Regions from separate parts of the Homo sapiens genome. Here region 2 is linked to region 1. The links are contacts of gene promoters, found by promoter capture Hi-C in human tissues and cell types (Jung and others, 2019). All regions are on one chromosome and are shown on one strand. Each heading gives the region's core, a stretch centred on a gene start or on the middle of the fragment in contact. The rest is flanking DNA. Distances are from core to core; before and after follow the strand shown. Region 1 holds the start of SLC27A2 (solute carrier family 27 member 2). Region 2 overlaps COPS2 (COP9 signalosome subunit 2).

Region 1 (4,311 bases), core at 588-3,087:
GGCAACAGAACGAGACTGTCAAAAAAAAAAAAAAAAAAGATGTAGGAAAGAGCATGGCTTCGAAGTTGGATAGAGCTAGGTTGGAATTTTAAGCCTCAGTTTTCTCAACTGTATAATGGTGGTGGTGGTGGTGGGGATAGTGATATGTTATCTCCCGGGGTAATAAAAGCATCTACTATAGGGCTTAGCACAGAAATGCATTCTAGAAAGCTGAGGCTCCTCGGCTCCCTCGACCCCTACCCTGTCACCCAGGTCTTTCAGCCCACTCCTGTGTAGGCCTCTTCTTACTGACTGAGAGAAGGAACCCTTGGTCCTTATTCAAGTGCAGAGACAAGCTCTCTGGGAGGGGAAAGCCATCAGCCCTGTGAGTAACAGGTTCTCTGTCACTTCCTGACCTTGTCATCACTTAAGTTACTGTTTCAAGTCTGGCTGAAATGTGGCAGGAGCTAACCACAGAACTGAAAGGGTCACTATTGTGATAGATGCAGTGGGGGCTCACAACGGTCCTGTAGCAGATCCCCAGTATCTTCTCCCTGGGGATCAGGTGGGGTCACCTTTGTTCTGCAGGGAGGGGACAGGATGCTAACAGCAGTTGAGAGCTGGAAGCAACATTGAAGCCTGCCTCATTAGAGAGGAGCAAACCAAGGGACAGAGAGGAGAAGTGACTTTCCCATGATCACACAGCCAGTCAAGCAGCAGAGGTGAGAAGAGCCCCTCTGGATCCACTAGAGTTCGCACTCAAGATCCTCTGCATTTTAATGCAGATGTTATAAGTATTGATTAAGAGCTTGGAATTTGGAGATAGATGGCTGGGCATGAGGCTTCACCTCTCAGGACCTCAGTGGTCTCATCTATAAAAGTCCTATAACAAAGCCTACCCATTGTGAGGATTAAAAACCACACTGCCTGTAGAGTGCTTAACACAGAACCTAGCACATTATCAGCTTCCACAACAGGTGGTCCTAAAAGATCATTATTTGCGATTCAAGGAAACACTGCCAACCTTTTTCTATACCTACAGTTCCGATCTGAACCTCCCTCTGCGAACCCCTTATGCCACGCTGTGGCTCGTCAGTCAAGGCGCCGAGAAGCCCTGGTGCCAGGGCAGGGCGATCCTCGGGGCTCACCTGGCGACACCAGCAGCACCTTCGCCCCGCAGCACTGGAAGCAGTGCAGCAGGGACTTCGCGCGGATGTTGTAATTGAGGCACGCCATGGCACAGCCCAGCTTCACCAGCCCCAGCCACAGCCACACGTAGGCCGGCTCGTTACCCATAAGGAGCGCCACGCAGTCTCCCTGGCGCAGGCCGAGGTGGTCGTGCAGCGCCCGGGCCACTTGATTGCTGCGCCGGTCCACCTGCGCGTAGGTGAGAGTCTCGTCGCGGAAGAGCAGAAAAGGCTTGTGTGGCGTCTGGCGCGCTTTCTCCAGGAACGCCCGCAGGATGGTGCGCGCCGGCCGCCGCTTCCCGTAGCTGCGCACCCTCCGGCCCACGGCGGCCACCTTCAAGAAGTAGCCTATGTCCTGGAAGAAGTATGGGCAGCAGAGGTTCACCAGGAGCGGCAGGAACAGCAGTCCCGCCAGGACTGTGTAGATGGCGGAAAGCATGACGGCTGCGGGGCCCTCTGTCCCAGCGAGGGCAGAGGGTTCACCCCGGGCGTGCAGCGCGGCGACTGGGCGGGCTCCGGGCGGACTGGCGGGCTGCGCCGGGGCGCACGCGGCGGGACGCCGGGCTCGCGTGAGATGAAGGGGAAGACAGAGCTCCTCCGCTGCAGGTACCGCCGCGGGCTCCGGAGCAGGTGTAGTCGTATGCGCGTTGCCGGGGGTTCCGGGCAGGACTGGCCGGCTGAGCCCGCCCCCTTGTGGGGGGCAGCCACCTGCTCTCCCGGCCCTCCCACGCGGTCCTCCCGGGGCTGGGCAGGCTGCCCTGCGGCTCACCAGGAGCCTCGGCCACTTCCCAGCTCGAGTCTGGAGGTCTGGGGTCAAGTCTGGACCTCCTCGCGTTGTGACCGAAGTACTTTACCTCTAGGAGCCACGGTTTCTTTAAATGGTGATGAGACGCGCTTAGCGGACGTTGGGAATATTAAAGGAGATATTGCAGGCGTGGGGCTATTATTTGTTACCACTAATAGAATGGCTTATGGAGATGACACTGTTATTACCGATAAAGTGCCTTATAAATGTCAGACAGTCCTATTATTTATTAATAGCGGGTACCAGGTGCCACTGCCAAACCAGAATCTCATCTCTCCTTCCTGGTCCCAAGGGCTTTCCGCCTGGTCTCTCTTTGTTTCTCAGATTTGCTTCCCAGCCCGACTGCCAGGCGGTCTCCTGTAGCGAAGGCTTCAAGGTTGAACAGAAATGCCTGTGGCAGTCACGTCCAGCTCATCCCAAGCCCTGCCAGGTGAGTGAGGGCAGGACACTCTAACCTAGTCGGCCCTGCCTGGTCGGGGGAGTCCTGATTTCGTGAAGAGCAGTGCTACACCGCACCACCTGAAATCAAGCTTTGACATTATTTTACGATTTTGTTCTGTTAAGTGATCCTGCTGTTCCCTCATGTTGAAAGTTGTCAAGTGTTGTCAGCACAGTTCACACATTTAATAAGTGGCTCTGTCAGAGAATAGTATAGTACAGAGGACATTGAGTAAGTGGTATTGGCATGACTCAAAAACCATTTCTTTTAGAGGAAATGTGAACCTTTCTTTTAATTTGCCTTAGTGCTACTTCTGTACGAAGTGAATGCTCACTACTTGCCACTGAGGAGGGTCAGGATCTAAGTAGTGTTTTATTTTCATCCTCTACTGTCCTCCTGTGTTCCTCTATCTTAATTTGATACGATAAATACAGATAATGCTTATTCCTCCCAGACACGCTGCTAGGAGCTTCCCTATGTTACATTTTGGGAGCCTGAGTTATTTTATACAGGTGGCACTTTCATGCTCATTTACAGACAAGAAAGGGAAGCTTAGGTGAATTGAGACAGCCGGTAAGTAATTCGTGGGTTTTGGAAATGGTATCTGTTTGGTCCCGGGGAACCAACTCTTAGCTTATTCTTAGTAACTATACTATGCTGTCCTCCTATTCTCTAGGTTTCTGTCCATGTCCTCTTTTTTTTTCGGTGTGTGTAAAACACACAAAAATGTTTCACATTCCCTCCAGGCCACCCCCTGCCGTTTTTTAGCCTCCTTTTCGTATCCCTAGTAACTGCGCAAGCAACCTTTCCCTTTTCCTGACTTTTTCATTTCTGATCCAGCTACCTGGTTGCATCATTTCCCTGGGGATGAGCTGGGGGCCTTCATCATCCCTGAGGAGAAAGCAGTAGAATTAACCAAAGTGAGGGCCCGACAGAAACCATTCTCATGTGCACTTCTTTCATGGTGAAGCTCAGAGCCAGCCCTTCCTTTTTCATCCCAATGCCACCCTCGTCCCTTGATGGCTAATCGCTTCTGTGTAGCCACCTGCACCCCTCTTCTCTTTTCCTTGAACAGCTACTGTCTACCCAGAGTGCTAGATTACCACAAGGGTCCACTTTTTCCCCTCTTATTCTGAGGATCACTTTAACCTCAGTTACAAGTAAAAGAAAACAAGACCCAAGCTAGCTGAAGCAGAAACAGGAATTTAAGTAGTAACTGGAGAGTCCGGGGCTAAGACATCAAGGATTTTAAATGCTGACACCTGGATCTAGTTTTGCTTTCACTATTTCTCCTCTGCACCTCCTCTGTTCTCATTCAGGCTCTCTGGTTTTTGTCCAAAGATGGCTGCCAACAGCCCTTAGGGGTACATGCTTTCTGGCTCAACTTCAGAGAGAAGTACAGGAATCTTTTTCTTAGGAGTTCTCATAAAAAAAAAAATCCCTGACTGGATTATGCGCCCATTTCTGAACCAATGTCTGTGGGTCCTGGGGAAAAAGGTGCTAGTTGTTTTAAGCCAATCAGCGCTCACCCATGGGGGTGAGAGTATAATCAATTTCACCTAGGCCATTTTGTGGAACGTTTTACGGTATTATTAAAAAGTGGGGTTAGGGAGAGTAAATTTGGGGAAGTAATTTTCAAATGTCTATAATATATACCTTGGGAGTCCCAGTGATTCCAGCTTTGAGCCTGGGATCCAGCTCTTGCTTTATCACGAGGTTAATAGATGTCTTAGTCTGTTTGGGCTGCTATAACAAAATACTGTAAGCTGGGTAGTTTATAAACAACAGAAATTTATTTCTCAGACTTCTGGAGGCAAGTCTAAGATCAAGGTGCCAGCAGATGTGGTGTTTGGTGAAGGGCTACTTTCTCACAGATGGTGCCTTCTCACTGTGTACTGTTT
Region 2 (4,311 bases), core at 514-3,013, 1.1 Mb after region 1:
AAAGTCTTTTGTAGACACATCTTATTTATTTCTTTCTAGCACTATTCATGGCCGAATTGATCAAGTCAACCAACTCCTTGAACTGGATCATCAGAAGAGGGGTGGTGCACGATATACTGCACTAGATAAATGGACCAACCAACTAAATTCTCTCAACCAGGCTGTAGTCAGTAAACTGGCTTAACAGAGAACAAGCTTTTACAGACGTCCTTAAGGCAACAGTGCAGAGATGTAATCCTTAAAAGAACTGGGAATGGCAAAACTACTGTCGGTTGATGTGTCCTGAAAATTATTGGAGTTATGGCAGAAGTGCTTTTTTGATCAACTGGTTTGTGTTTTGCTGCTGCATTTATCCCAAGAAAAACAGCTTTAATCTCCAGAAGAAAACCAAAATACCATGGGATTTATGCTGTATTGACATCTTGCCCTAAACGTACAACATCATAGTAATTTGTCATGGGCAACATGACCAGAGAGAAGATTTTTGTCATGATTTTAAATACACTGACACGCTACTGTTGGTTAAATTTAAACATGTTTTACCTGCAGAAATTCTCTCACAAATAACCTGCAATAACTTGAAATGCATACCCTTTTGAACACTTCCTTTTCTCATGTATAAATTAAAATGTTTGCTGCATTTTGCAAAATGTCAATTCTCTAAAAATGTGTCCGTATATTTCTGTACCTGCAGTGTAGTAAAGGTTTAGACGAAACCCCATAATTATAGTGGCATACTGTCACTTAGGTTTCAAGCAGCAAAATAAACAGTGCAGCTCAGAAATTGTAGTTTGGTTCTTGATGTGTTTTTATTACATTTGGAGTTGTTTTGTTTTTTAGTACCTTCGAAATTTCAAATTATTTTATCTTCAGTTAATGATTTTAAAAAGCCTGGGGGCAAATAAGTTGGTTATTTGCTTTCAAGTTTTTAAAAGTAGTCTTTATTGATAGAGTAAGGAGAACTACTTTCTAACAAAACACGTGCATAGTTATGACAGTGATGCTTTAAAGGAATAAAATTCTTTTTTTTTAAAGAGTGATATTCCTTTTCAAAAGAATACTAACTCTCAGAATGTTCACTTTAAACGAATATGCCAGAACATAGACAGCTAAATGAATGTTACTCTGCATAGTGATCATGCTGGAAGGTTATTTCCTAATGCCAGCAATCTACCATTGCCCAAAACCTGCTGAGTTTACTCTTTTAGAATTGCATTCAAAGTTAATTTGTCACACACACTAAACTTTATGATTATACATTGTTTTAAAAAATATAGTATTAGGAAGCTTGATTATTTTTAGTTACCATTACTTGGCACCAAATGAAAGTTTCCAAAACTTCCACCTAACTTTGAGGTAATGCAGAAAGTATATAACTGGCTTTGAAGGCAATCCCAAAAGAGTTTTAAAGGTTTTTTGAGCAGTGGCAGTATACTTAGGAGAATGAACTGTGGCCTTCCAAGGTAACTACCTTAAAGGAACTCAGCTCATTTGAATGTATTGAGTTTTGGATGTATTTGTTTCATTTTTTAAAAAGTTCACATTATTTTATAGTGTCGAAAGGAAGAACTAGGATTAACATAATTTCTTTGGTTTTTCTATTGCTTGTTATTATTATGTAAAAACTGGGTGGCAGTTCAGAAGGAAGATTGTGGTTACAGAAGAGTGACAACCAAGAATTTTTTGATCATTAAATCAGATTTTATAAACAGTGGAAGGAGCATGGACTTAAAACAAGGCATGCTTATTCGGTTTTGTCAAAATTTTACGAAAATATGTGATATATATTTATACTAAAAATATATAATCCTTAGATTTAGAAAAGCAATCAGTTAATGTCTTTAGCAGACTAAAGCAGTATTAAACACAGGTACAAGTTGGAAATTGTAGAAAACGGAAAGAAAACAAAAGACAAAATGTCTATGGTAGGGAATAAAAGTTTAAGATATTATAAAATTATGTGTATTTTCTCTTTTACATAAATCATTTGTGAAAAGTGTGCTAAACTTTTTTTACAAGAGTGATATTAATTAGGATTTATTTTTCAATATAATTTGGAGACCCTTTGTTATCCAAATAAAAATGATGAGTTTTTGTGCCTGTATTCAAATATGTATGCATGTGATAACCCTTGAAAGCTAAAGCCCTTCTTAACTTTTGAGTTGATGGAATTAGAATTCAAAGATTTGAATGAAATGATTTAACCTTTATCCTCCAATTCTTACAGTGCCCAGTTCTCCTGTGCTATCTTTGCTTTGTACAATAGTGCATCTTCCACTTTCTAGAGAGAAAGCATGCACTTGTTATTTGGAAAACTGGGCTAAATATATAACAGTATCCAAAGTTATACCATAATAATTTATTGTAATTGTGTATTACATAGCTTTGTTTACCCAGATATAGGTGCGTTCTTTTTTTTCTGTTAGTCATCTGTGACTTTTGTTCTGGAATACAGGTTTTTAAATATATCTTAACAGTCTGACTAACTTAAAATAATTTATTCTTCCCTTAAAACATTTTTCTGTGTTTTTGTGCATCAAATATTGTAGAGTTGAAATCTTAGAGATTGCTTATCGAAATATAAATTTAGGGGAAGTTAAAAATCGATTGGCAAATTTGTAGCATTTATTCACTGATTAAATCTTTTCCACTTTTGTGAAAACCATACCAGTGGTTTACATCATATTGTAATGTGTTCATCTCATTCTTCTTTTTATCCCTAAACCTAGCTAAAAGTTACTGCAAAGAAATCTTTGGCTGCCACAAGTAGATGCTCTCTACTACAAGAGCTGGATTTCCATTACTCACTCTTGCTCTTACATTAAAGTTGTTGATTAAATACTTTTTCTCTACATCTTAATGTAACATAACTGATTTCTTTTTAAAGATGAGTATATATGTACTAAGTAATGCTCTCATTACATGAGTCCCTTCTAACTACAGGCTGATACATCTTTCAGGAAAACTGAGAACCTAATATTTAAGTGAGGCCTATTTTAAATGAGCTATACTGTGGGTGGTAGTGTTTGTTACCTTATGTAAGACTTAGGTTTGTCTTAGACTGAAAAACTCTTATTCTTAATATTTAAAATATCCATGATGGTAGAAATTTTGTGGGAAATTTTCTTTTTTAATCAATAGTTACAGTTCTTCAGTAAACACAGGTATGTATGCTTTTGTGGTGTCAGTGTCAGTCTAAATCTATGGGTGAAGCAGTTAGTCCATAAGACAAAAAATTATTTGCCTAGTGGATTCCCTTTACCTCTTTTTAAGAAGCTCAGAGATCTGTAATCATTAATTTACTAAGGATTTTTTAAAATATTATTTTAGTCACTTTTAAACCTGAAAATTTCTCTTTTGATTTAGATTTTTGAAGTGAGGCTTGAGCATACACAAGTAAAGCTGGGAGTTTCATTCTTCATATGGGATTTATGACTAAATATTTCTAGCATTTTGAAGAAGATAAACATTTTGAACTGAAGTATATAACAAAAAAAGGAATTTGACATTTAACTATTTTGTATCAAAGTGTTTAAGAACACTATCCAGAACAAGAGATGGAGTATCAGGTTTCAGAATGTGACGCAAAAGGCATTTGGTCTTCATTTATGTGACCACAATTAAAATTTTCCTCTTTTTTTCTTTTTCTGGAGGTTTTCTTTTAGTTTTCATTGTTTTAGGTTTTTTTTTCCCCCAAATCAGCATCCTATTTATATTTGTTTGATACGGTTTTTTTGTTTTTGTTTTTGTTTTGCTTTTTTTGGAAACAGTTTCGCTCTTGTCACCCAGGCTGGAGTGCAGTGGCGCAATCTCAGTTCACTGCCACCTCCACCTCCCGGGTTCAAGCGATTCTCCTGCCTCAATCTCCGGAGTAGCTGGGATTACAGACACCCGCCACCACGCCCAGCTAATTTTTGTGTTTTTAGTAGAGACAAGATTTCACCATGTTGGCCAGGCTGGTCTCAAACTCCTGACCTCAGGCGATCCACCGCTTTGGCCTCCCATAGTGCTGGGATTACAGGCGTGAGCCACCACGCCCAGCCTGATACAGTTTTAAGCAGGAATTTGGCAGAAATTTCGTAACGAAGACAAATTGGAGGTTCTCTTTAACTCGAGATTATTAAATTTATAGTAACTTCTTGGGCCATTAAAATGTGAGTTTAAATGCCATTTGGAGGATTTGTGTTATATTAAGCACCACAAATTTAAACTGTCAACTAGTGATTCTACATGTTTCTCAAAATGCTAAAGTTTAGCATCACTTACTTGCTTTTGAATTTTAAGGAGATTCGTCTTAGGTAATGTCTCAGA

What was found. The method cuts DNA at HindIII sites, captures the fragments that hold promoters and counts their contacts. A contact is called where the count stands out against the background at its distance.
Region 2: a contact is called between a fragment that was not itself captured here and the fragment with the promoter of SLC27A2 in region 1, in 1 of the 25 tissues and cell types used here (lymphoblastoid cells).

Annotation. Positions count from the first base shown.
Region 1 is chr15:50,179,722-50,184,032 of GRCh38, reverse strand. It overlaps SLC27A2 (solute carrier family 27 member 2), which reads right to left and starts at 1,837. Exons shown (of 10, transcript NM_003645.4): 1 at 1,128-1,837. The coding sequence starts at 1,605. It also overlaps a transcript of ATP8B4 not described here. RefSeq lists silencers at 1,236-1,335, 1,606-1,945. The HindIII fragment of the contact is 4,473 bases long and covers 1-2,731 here.
Region 2 is chr15:49,123,823-49,128,133 of GRCh38, reverse strand. It overlaps COPS2 (COP9 signalosome subunit 2), which reads left to right. Exons shown (of 13, transcript NM_004236.4): 13 at 40-4,311. The coding sequence ends at 184. Among named protein-coding and RNA genes, the nearest start is that of COPS2, 30 kb to the left of the region's middle. The HindIII fragment of the contact is 3,555 bases long and covers 1-3,540 here.